Regions from separate parts of the Homo sapiens genome. Here region 1 is linked to region 2. The links are contacts of gene promoters, found by promoter capture Hi-C in blood cells and fetal thymus (Javierre and others, 2016). All regions are on one chromosome and are shown on one strand. Each heading gives the region's core, a stretch centred on a gene start or on the middle of the fragment in contact. The rest is flanking DNA. Distances are from core to core; before and after follow the strand shown. Region 1 overlaps ANKS1B (ankyrin repeat and sterile alpha motif domain containing 1B). Region 2 holds the start of LINC02453 (long intergenic non-protein coding RNA 2453).

Region 1 (4,350 bases), core at 1,521-4,020, 260 kb after region 2:
AACTGGGATTTGAATCCAGTTGTTCTTTCTGAGAGGCTATACTCTTCTTGACCATTACACCTTAAAACTATACATAAGATAAAATAAAAAAAATTCTGTAATCTGTTTTAAAAAGTTTAAAAAACATGTGAGCCAATTGAGCTTCCAAGTGACTGACCCATCTTGGCTGTGGTGAGGTCACCTACTGGCCCATTGCCTGGGTCTCATGCCCAGTCTGGCTGAGAGGCAGCCTCCAGGCCGGGGGTGTACTTCGTGACTCCACAGAGACCATCAACACAGGAATTCTTCATCTTTGGCTTCCCCAAGGGTGAGGTAAAAGATACGAGGCAACTCCCATCCTCAGTAGTGGCTATTTAGGAAGAAGGGTAGGGAGTCCCAGTCCAATGGGGAAAAACCTCCTGGAAAGCACAGGAATTCCCCTCTTCCCTTCCCTTCTCTTCTCTTCTTCCCCAGGGATTTTTCTTTTTTCTTTTCTTTTCTTTTCCTTCCTTTTTTTTTTTTTTTTTTGAGATAGGGTCTCACTCTCTTACCTAGGCTGGAGTGCAGTGGTGTGATCTCAGCTTACTGCCATCTCCACCTCCCGGGTTCAAGTGATTCTCCTGCCTCAGCCTCCTGAGTGGCTGGGATTATAGGCGTGCACGCCTGGCTAATTTTTTTTTTTTTTTTTATGGCAGAGATGGGGTTTCACTGTGTTGGCCAGGCTGGTCTCGAGCTCCTGGCCTCAAGTGATCCTCCTGCCTGGGCCTCCCAAAGTGCTAGAATTATAGGCATGAACCACTGTGCCCGGCCTGGGATTTTGATCTGCGAATTAAGAACTGCTACATTAGAGGAGCTTAAGGAACCACTGTATCATAAAGATAAATCCTAAGGCAATCAAGGGATGCAAACTCACTTTTCTTGTGCAAGCTGAAGATATGCAGGTCAGCTTATATTTACTGTGGTTTCTTCAAGGCAATCATGGATATTGAACATCACCACAGATATTTACCAAGCTCCTTCCAAGTGTTAAGGGCTGTGTCCCTGGTGCCAGTCCCATGCCTAGCCTATAGACAATGTCCAGGAAGTGATCACTGAATGACATGGGGGAGTAAAAGTGTCCATCAAGACTCTCATTACATCCAGAGGAGGCTCATGGAGAGACAAAGAGATCTTCCTCGCTGTCCTCCCGCATCCTTGTCCCCGAGGCTATACGCAGCATATTCATCGGTCTAGTATGAGAAAAATTGCATCATAGATGGTGGGCAATCTGTCCCCTAGAAAAAGCTCTAGCCACCAAGGTAATTAATTTATTTTAACTGGTACATCACTAAGATTTTTGTTTCTTAGTTTGAAAATCTCTTAGGCACAAGGGTTCACTGATACATGTGCAAAAATATTCATTAAAGTGTTTAAATTTTTCATTATTAGAGGACTGATTAAGTAGAATACTAGGTAGCCATTTAACATGAAAACTGGAGGCGGGTGGATTGCCTGAGCTCAGGAGTTCAAGACCACCCCGGGCAACATGGTGAAACGCTGTCTCTACTAAAATACAAAAAATTAGCTGGGCGTGGTGGTGCACATCTGTAATCCCAGCTACTCGGGGGGCTGAGGCAGGAGACTCGCTTGAGCCCAGGAGGTGAAGATTGCAATGAGCCGAGGTCGCACCACTGCATTCCAGCCTGGGTGACAGAGTGAGACTCCGTCTAAAAATAAATAAATAAAATAAATAAATCAATAATGGGTTAAAAGACTACGTAAAAATATATGTATACATATACACATAGATAGGATCTGTATATATGCATAGAAAATAGCAATATGGATCAAATGTGAATAGTAGTTATCACTGCGTATTGAGACTGGATGATTTCTATTTTTGTATTTTGGAACTTTATTTAAATGAGGATTAATGATGTTTACAGTCATAAAATAATCTTTCCATTTTGATAATTAAAAACAAGAGAAAGTCTTTTGCGTTTAAAATAGTCTTATTCTTGCTTTTTTTTTTTGAGACAGGGTCTTGCTCTGTTGTCCAGGCTGGAGTGCAGTGGCACAGTCATGGCTCACAGAAAGCTTGACCTCCCAGGCTCACATGATCCTCTCACCTCAGCCTCTGGAGTAGCTGGGACCACAGGTAATGTGTCATCACACCTGGCTGATTTTTGTATGTTTTTTAGAGACAGGGTTTCAACATGTTGCCCAGGATGGATCTTATTCTTTCTGCATCACCTTGGGGTTCTGAGGGTCTCTTCATTCTCTGGCTGAGAGGGCTGGGAACTACTTTCCAGCAAAATCTGGAACCTCTCTGCAGGTGCTGTCATGGCTCACCTCTATGTGCCAGGAAGCTGCCCATTCATTTGGCAAAGAATCTTGTTTAGGCTCTTCAGTTTTCATACTGGATGCCAATTCTAACATCTTCTCAGTGAGACTTTGAAGTATCAAGCTCTTCCTTTAAGCTGCAACCCTAATACTTCTACTCCAAGTGCGGAATTGACCCTTTAATGGTCCAACTTCTGCCAAGCCCAAGTGAAAAATGTTGTTACGTGGATATTAACTTATAGACATGCAGTCAATCCGCTCTTGTAGCTGTGCAAAGTTTGATCTCTGCACGAAGTCAAACTGCCTATGAACTTGAACTGTATTTTATTTCCTTTCATAATGATGATAAAGCAGTGGCAGCAGCAACTACACATGATATTGCCTACTACATCCTAGGGACGAGGCTAAGTGCCTTCTGTGGATTGTCTACCCCTTACAACACCTTACAGAGGAGGAATGACCATCCTCATTTTACGTGTGAGAAACTAAGGATCAGCGAAATTGACAACTTGGCCAAGTTCATACAGCAGAGCCAGGATTCAAGTGCAGATCTGACTTCAGATTAGCCAGTGTTTCATGCCACTGGGCTATCCTACCTTCATTGCTCTCATGAATGTGCTGGTCTTCTGTGCCTATTTCATTGAGGCACCCTCTAGAACACCATCTTGTGTTTTGGAGATTCACTGTACAAATGTTGGTGAAGACATTATTACACAGTATCCCCTCATGGGGGCCTAGGACAGAAAGTTCCTTCATACTTAAGTCTTATTAAAATACTATTTTCGGAAGGGAAGGGGTATACTTTTCTTTCAAAGAAATATGCAGCATAAAATTACTGCATTTCCCTTTTTGCCTTGACCTCCAGGAAGCTCAGAGCTAAAAGCTCAGAGCTAGAGAGAGCCCAGCTCCCATACCTTTCCACAACTCCATGGTCTGTATATTGATGCTACAACTTTTCCCTTGATATGGAGCTTCCTTTTAGCCTATATTTTCCCTAATTCAGATTTGTGTGTATGTATATATATATTTTCAGACTACTATACCTATTCATGTAGGCTGTCTTCAATCCGTTATGGAATGAGGCATGGTAGAAACACTGTCCATTTGTTCACTTAGATATTTATTCCAGGACTTACTTTGTTGAATGCATTGCTGCCCAAATGGCTGACAAGGTATGTCAGGCATAAAGCTTCATCTCATCTGGCGAATATGACGAAGGAGTAAGGAATCTGAGGAGGAGGCCATCCAGGGAGGAAAGGCCCTCCTGACCCAGGCTGGGAGGCTGCTCTTTCTGAGTGGACCATTTTGACCTGCCTTGCAGTGCTTTGCATTACCATTAGAAACACAATGGCCACATTTTCATGACTGGAATGGAATGAACAAATGTATTCATTCCATAGCATCAGAGAGCTGCAGGCCCAGACAGGGGTCAGCAGAAGCTCACCCACACCATGAAGAGGGCACAGATGCAGACACGTTCAAGGGAAGGGCTGTGTCTGTATGTGGGAGTCCAGGGCAGAAAAGCTTGGGTGTCATAAAGTACCTTGAGATGTCTGATTGAAAAGTGTCTATCAGTGAATAGAGGCCATAAACAGAGTCCCTGGATCACCTGCATAGGCCAGCTCCACCATGGGCTACCTACCTACAGCACCTATTGCCACTGAGAAGTGGGTGTGGTCCAGGTGACCTATTGGTCCCTTTCCACCCTGGGAGTTTCAGGATTCTCTGATTAGAAGGGGCTATCTTTTACCCAGTCAACTACAGATTCAGTTTAGAGATGCACGCACAGTTGATGCTGTGCTAAACAGTGGCATGTTACCCAGAGGCCAGACTGCAGGGCTCCATAACCCACCAGCTAGAGCTCAGAGAGGCAGTCACCACCAACGGGCTGCCCTTCATCTCAGAAAACACCTTCATTCCAGCAATCACCCCTAAATGCTATTCCAAATGGCCAAGCATTTCATCTATTACAAAATGGATTTGTTCTTGGCAATACATGCGTTTGCCATCTCCCACCTTTGCCTGGTGAGTTACTGCTTATCCTTGAAG
Region 2 (4,746 bases), core at 470-2,969:
CAGCACTTTGGGAGGCCGAGGTGGGTGGATCACCTTAGGTCAGGAGTTCGAGACCAGCCTGACCAACGTGGTGAATTACCATCTCTACTAGAAACACAAATTGAACGGGCGTGTTTGTGGGCACCTGTAATCCCAGCTACTCGGGAGGCTGAGACAGGAGAATCGCTTGAACCCGGGGGACGGAGGTGGTAGTGAGCCAAGATCGCACCACTGCACTCCAGCCTGGGCAACAAGAGTGAAACTCCGTCTCAAAAAAAAAAGTTTACATATAAGGCTCTCTTAGTATCCCTGGGAAGAGGGTTCATCCTGTCTATGAACGGGTTTAGGATGACACAAATTATCAAATTATCCGATTAGTGCACTTTCCTAACCCATATGTTTAATCAGTGGCACATCCTGGTTTTGAATTATTTAAACGCATTATTATTTAGCCATTCACATACTTACGTTTGTCACTTCCAGTTAAACTGTAGCCACCTACAGAGAGCGAAACAGAAGTCGGCTGATAAAATTTTGATAAAATTTCATTTGCCCGCAGCTGGTCATTTCATTGGGCGCTTTTGTGTTACAAAAGTGTGTGAATTGGCCGGGCGCGGTGGCTCACGCCTGTAAATCCCAGCACTTTGGGAGGCCGAGGCAGGTGGATCACTAAAGGTCACGAGTTCGAGACCAGTCTGGCCAACATGGTGAACCCTCCCCCCCCCCACACACACACACACACCCCGCGTCTCTAGTAAAATACAAAAATTAGCCAGGCATGGTGGTGCGCGCCTGTAATCCCAGCCACTCGAGAGGCTGAGGCGGGAGAATCACTTGAGCCTTGGAGGTGGAGGTTGTAGTGAGCCCAGATCGCAACACTGCACTCCAGCCTAGGGGACAGAGCGAGACTTCCTCTCAAAAAAAAAAGACTTATGAATTGTTTGAAGAGGCACGAGACCGTGGCAACCCTAACTGTCCCCGACATCTGGCAGCCATATGCTATCCTTGAACTTGAACTTCAGAGTGAAAGTATAAATTTGTAAGGGGAAGGCTCAGCCGCAAGTCACATACCAGTGGTCAGTTAAAAAAAAAAAACTCAGGACGGCAACCTAAATCATTTAGAACGCGTCAAGAGCCTCGGAAAAACTATTTTCACACACTTCTCTAGCACTAACATGGGAAGCGCGTTTCCTTCACATATTCCACACCTTTTATTCTTCCCACCAACATCAAGAATACAAAGCGCCCAGAGAGGACAATAAGCCTAAGCAGCGGCTCCAAGAGACCGGACTTTCGTACTTCCCGGGGGCAGGCGGAAGGTTACGGAGCGCTGGAAGGATCTTACTGCTCCTTGAAGGGCTGTCTGAGAAAATACACAGCCTAACGACTCCTCGTTAGTATAGTGGTTAGTATCCCCGCCTGTCACGCGGGAGACCGGGGTTCAATTCCCCGACGGGGAGGTGTGTAGCTGCACTTTTTTGGCGACAGTTATTATTTTCTGTATCATTCAATGACAGGACACTGCTGTTAAACATAATATGCTAAACCAGCTCCCTTAAGTGCACAACCCTGTCTTCAAAATGGTGACTTTTAACCTTAATGCCCACCATGAAGTGAAAGCCTCCCCTGAGAGAAAATGCCTTACATTGTTTGCAGGAAGGGAGGAAAGGGAAAAAGAAAACGCTCTGAAGGCCTCTGCCCTTGCCTCCAGCCGCCATCTTGCGAAGGCCTGCGCCGGCTTAGTGGCGCCCCGCCAGATTACAACTCGAGGTCGCGAACTCAGCGCGCGGAACCTGTTGGGGGAGGGGAGAGAGGGCGGAGTCTCGCGACTAACGGGGCGGGGGCAGGGCGGGTAAGAACGGAAATCATTTGGTAAAGAAAAGGAAGGGCCAATTTCCTTTGATCCTGGAGACCCGACTAAACGGGAAGCCCCGTTCTCCCGCTTCCGCTGGTTACGTCCCAGCCTTGGTTAGAGGACTAGCAGTCAGGAAAGTTTGGACGCTGAAGGAATCGGTCTCCTGGTCCGACAGATACTGGGTGGAGGGGCAGAGAGTAAATGGAAGAGAAAGACTGGTACCCCTGGAAGAAACGCCATTTACTGGTGTCCTAAGAAACTGCGCGAGCCACAGCCCAGCAGGACCTCGTGGCGCAACGGTAGCGCGTCTGACTCCAGATCAGAAGGCTGCGTGTTCGAATCACGTCGGGGTCAAACTTTTTTTTTTTCCTCCTGTATTTTAAACTACCGACTACTAGAAGCCGAGGTGTATTCCTGCCGCCAATTTTCTTGAATGTTAGAATTAAGTTTTCCTCTTTCAGGTATTATGATACTAATCCTTGGTTTGCAGGAAGATATGATTTACTCTATATCGAAGAGCCTCAAGGCTGATGTTTTTATCATTTGGCCTTTTAAAGTGAGTTTTTTTGTCACTTAACATGCATAATGTGTAAAGAGGTGGACTATTACTGCTGTGCATTAGTGGGTGTATCAGTCCACTAGTCTATCACAGGAAGTGTACAATATACTGTACAAGCTGTTTTTTCCAAACAGTTTTAGGCTGTTTGCCTTTTGAAAGAGAGTACAATAGTGTACAATTTCTAATTTTGAATATTATGCTAATCAAGTGTCTTAGCCCTTACCATGTGCCAACACTGTGAACAACCTCACAATGTGTGACTATTATCCCACTTTTACAAATGTGGCTGTGGCTCACAGGGTTAGTGACCTGCCAAGGGTCACCCAAGATTCTGAACCAGGTGAGGGACTCTGGATCCCTCTTTATAAATACTTTATAATAAAGGTGGAAACAAACAGTTGAAAGAATGTGTGACTGCCAGGCTCAGTGGCTTACACCTGTAATCCTAGCACTTTGGAAGGCCAAAGTGGGTGGATCACGAGGTCAGGAGTTCAAGACCAGCCTGACCAACATGGTGAAACCCCATTTCTACTGAAAATACAAAAATTAGCTGGGCATGGTGGGGTGCACCTGTAATCCCAGCTACTCCGGAGGCTGAGGCAGAAGAATTGATTGAACCCGGGAGGCGGAGGTTGCAGTGAGCCTGGGTGACCAAGCAAGACTCCTTCTGGAGGTGGGTGGCGGGGAGGAATGTGGGAAAAGCTGTTGGACTGGGCGCCTTTTATGTTTTCACCGATTATGCGAGTGATGACTAGTCACCACTTTTGACTATTAATCTCTTTAATAGCAGGAAGCAAAGCTTGCTCGTTCACATTTGCAAGCTCCAGGACTCTTAGTACTAAATAGTGCCCTACACGTAAGTGTCAAATATTTGTTGAACAGAAAATGAATAGCAAGACTATGAGAAATTAATAGTTTTAGATTTTGATGATATGTTTTGTAAAATTCCTGAGGTTTTCTGCTTAGTATTTTGAAAATACCAAACACTAATTTCTTTTGATTCAACCTAATGTAGCAGTATACCTGGAAATTATATTTGCACATGGTGTGGTTTGTTCTTCCCTCTCCTGTTTGGATTAAAATTAGATCATCCATTTCAACGGGTATTTATGGACTGTCAACTCTGATGAGCCTGATACTGTGCTAAGTACTAAGGATGAGGATACACTGAGTAAAAATGGGTTTTTTTGAGCATCAGGAGACAGATATGTTAAGCCACCAAACGCCATAATGTGTTGGGGTAAGTTCATGTTACTTGGTAAGAACCATGAAAGTAACATGAACAGAGTGGTATGGGGGTGCTAAAACAGTGGACAGTAACTCCACATTGGGTTGTATGAGGCTATAACAAGGTGATACAACCTCTCCATCTACATCACAAAAATATGGTTTTGTCCAAATGAGTTAACATGATTGGTCCAAGCTACGATATATGCAGTATATGCAAATGATGCCAGAGGGAAGAAATGGCTTCTGTTATGGGCTGAATTTTTTTTTTTTTTTTTTTTTTGAGATGGAGTCTCACCCTGTCGCCCAAGCTGGAATGCAGTGGCAACCTCCGCCTCCCAGGTTCAAACGATTCAGCCTCCCAAGTAGCTGGGATTACAAGTGCACCCCACTACACCCAGCTATTTTTTTGTTTGTTTGTTTGTTATCTTTAGTAGAGACAAGGTTTCACCATGTTGGCCAGGCTGGTCTTGAACTCCTGACCTCATGATCCACCTGCGTCAGCCTCCCAAAGTGCTGGGATTACAGGCGTGAGCCACCACACCCAGTTTATGGGCTGAATTTCATCTCCCCAACATTCATATGTTGAAGCCCTCACTCCTAGTACCTCAGAATGATCGTAAGACCTGATTAAGTACGCTAGGTGCAGTGGCTCACGCCTGTAATCCCAGCACTTTGGGAGGCCAAGGCAGGTGGATCACAAGATCAGGAGTTGGAGACCAGCCTTGCCAACATGGTGAAACCCTGTCTCTACTGGAAATAGAAAAATTAGCTGGGCGCGGTGGCGGGTGCCTATAATTCCAGCTACTCGGGAGGCTGAGGCAGGAGAATTGCTTGAACCCGGGAGGCAGAGGTTGCAGTGAGCCGAGATCGCACCACTGCACTCTAGCCTAGGTGACAGAGCAAGACTCTCTTTTAAAAAAAAAAAAAAAAAGACATTATTAAGTAAAAATGAGGCCATTAGGGTGGGCCCTAATCCAGTCTGACTGGTGTCATATTTATAAGAGGAAATTTGGACACACAGACACCAAGGATGTGTGCACACAGGGGAAAGGCCATGTGAGGATACAGCAAGAGAGTAGCCATCTACAAGCCAAGGTCTAGGAAGAAGCCAACCCTGCTGGCC

Evidence for each region. The method cuts DNA at HindIII sites, captures the fragments that hold promoters and counts their contacts. A CHiCAGO score of 5 or more calls a contact.
Region 1: a fragment that was not itself captured here is called in contact with the fragment with the promoter of LINC02453 in region 2 in 1 of 17 cell types (neutrophils); the score reaches 9.2 in neutrophils.

What each region holds. Positions count from the first base shown.
Region 1 is chr12:98,758,292-98,762,641 of GRCh38, forward strand. All of the region lies in intron 25 of ANKS1B (ankyrin repeat and sterile alpha motif domain containing 1B), which reads right to left. Among named protein-coding and RNA genes, the nearest start is that of APAF1, 120 kb to the left of the region's middle. The HindIII fragment of the contact is 1,435 bases long and covers 2,054-3,488 here.
Region 2 is chr12:98,502,136-98,506,881 of GRCh38, forward strand. It overlaps LINC02453 (long intergenic non-protein coding RNA 2453), which reads right to left and starts at 1,720. Exons shown (of 4, transcript NR_038383.1): 1 at 1,625-1,720; 2 at 448-477. TRD-GTC1-1 (tRNA-Asp (anticodon GTC) 1-1) reads left to right here and starts at 1,368; the gene lies at 1,368-1,439. TRW-CCA4-1 (tRNA-Trp (anticodon CCA) 4-1) reads left to right here and starts at 2,117; the gene lies at 2,117-2,188. RefSeq lists enhancers at 1,458-1,767, 1,778-2,077. The HindIII fragment of the contact is 12,452 bases long and covers 1-3,190 here.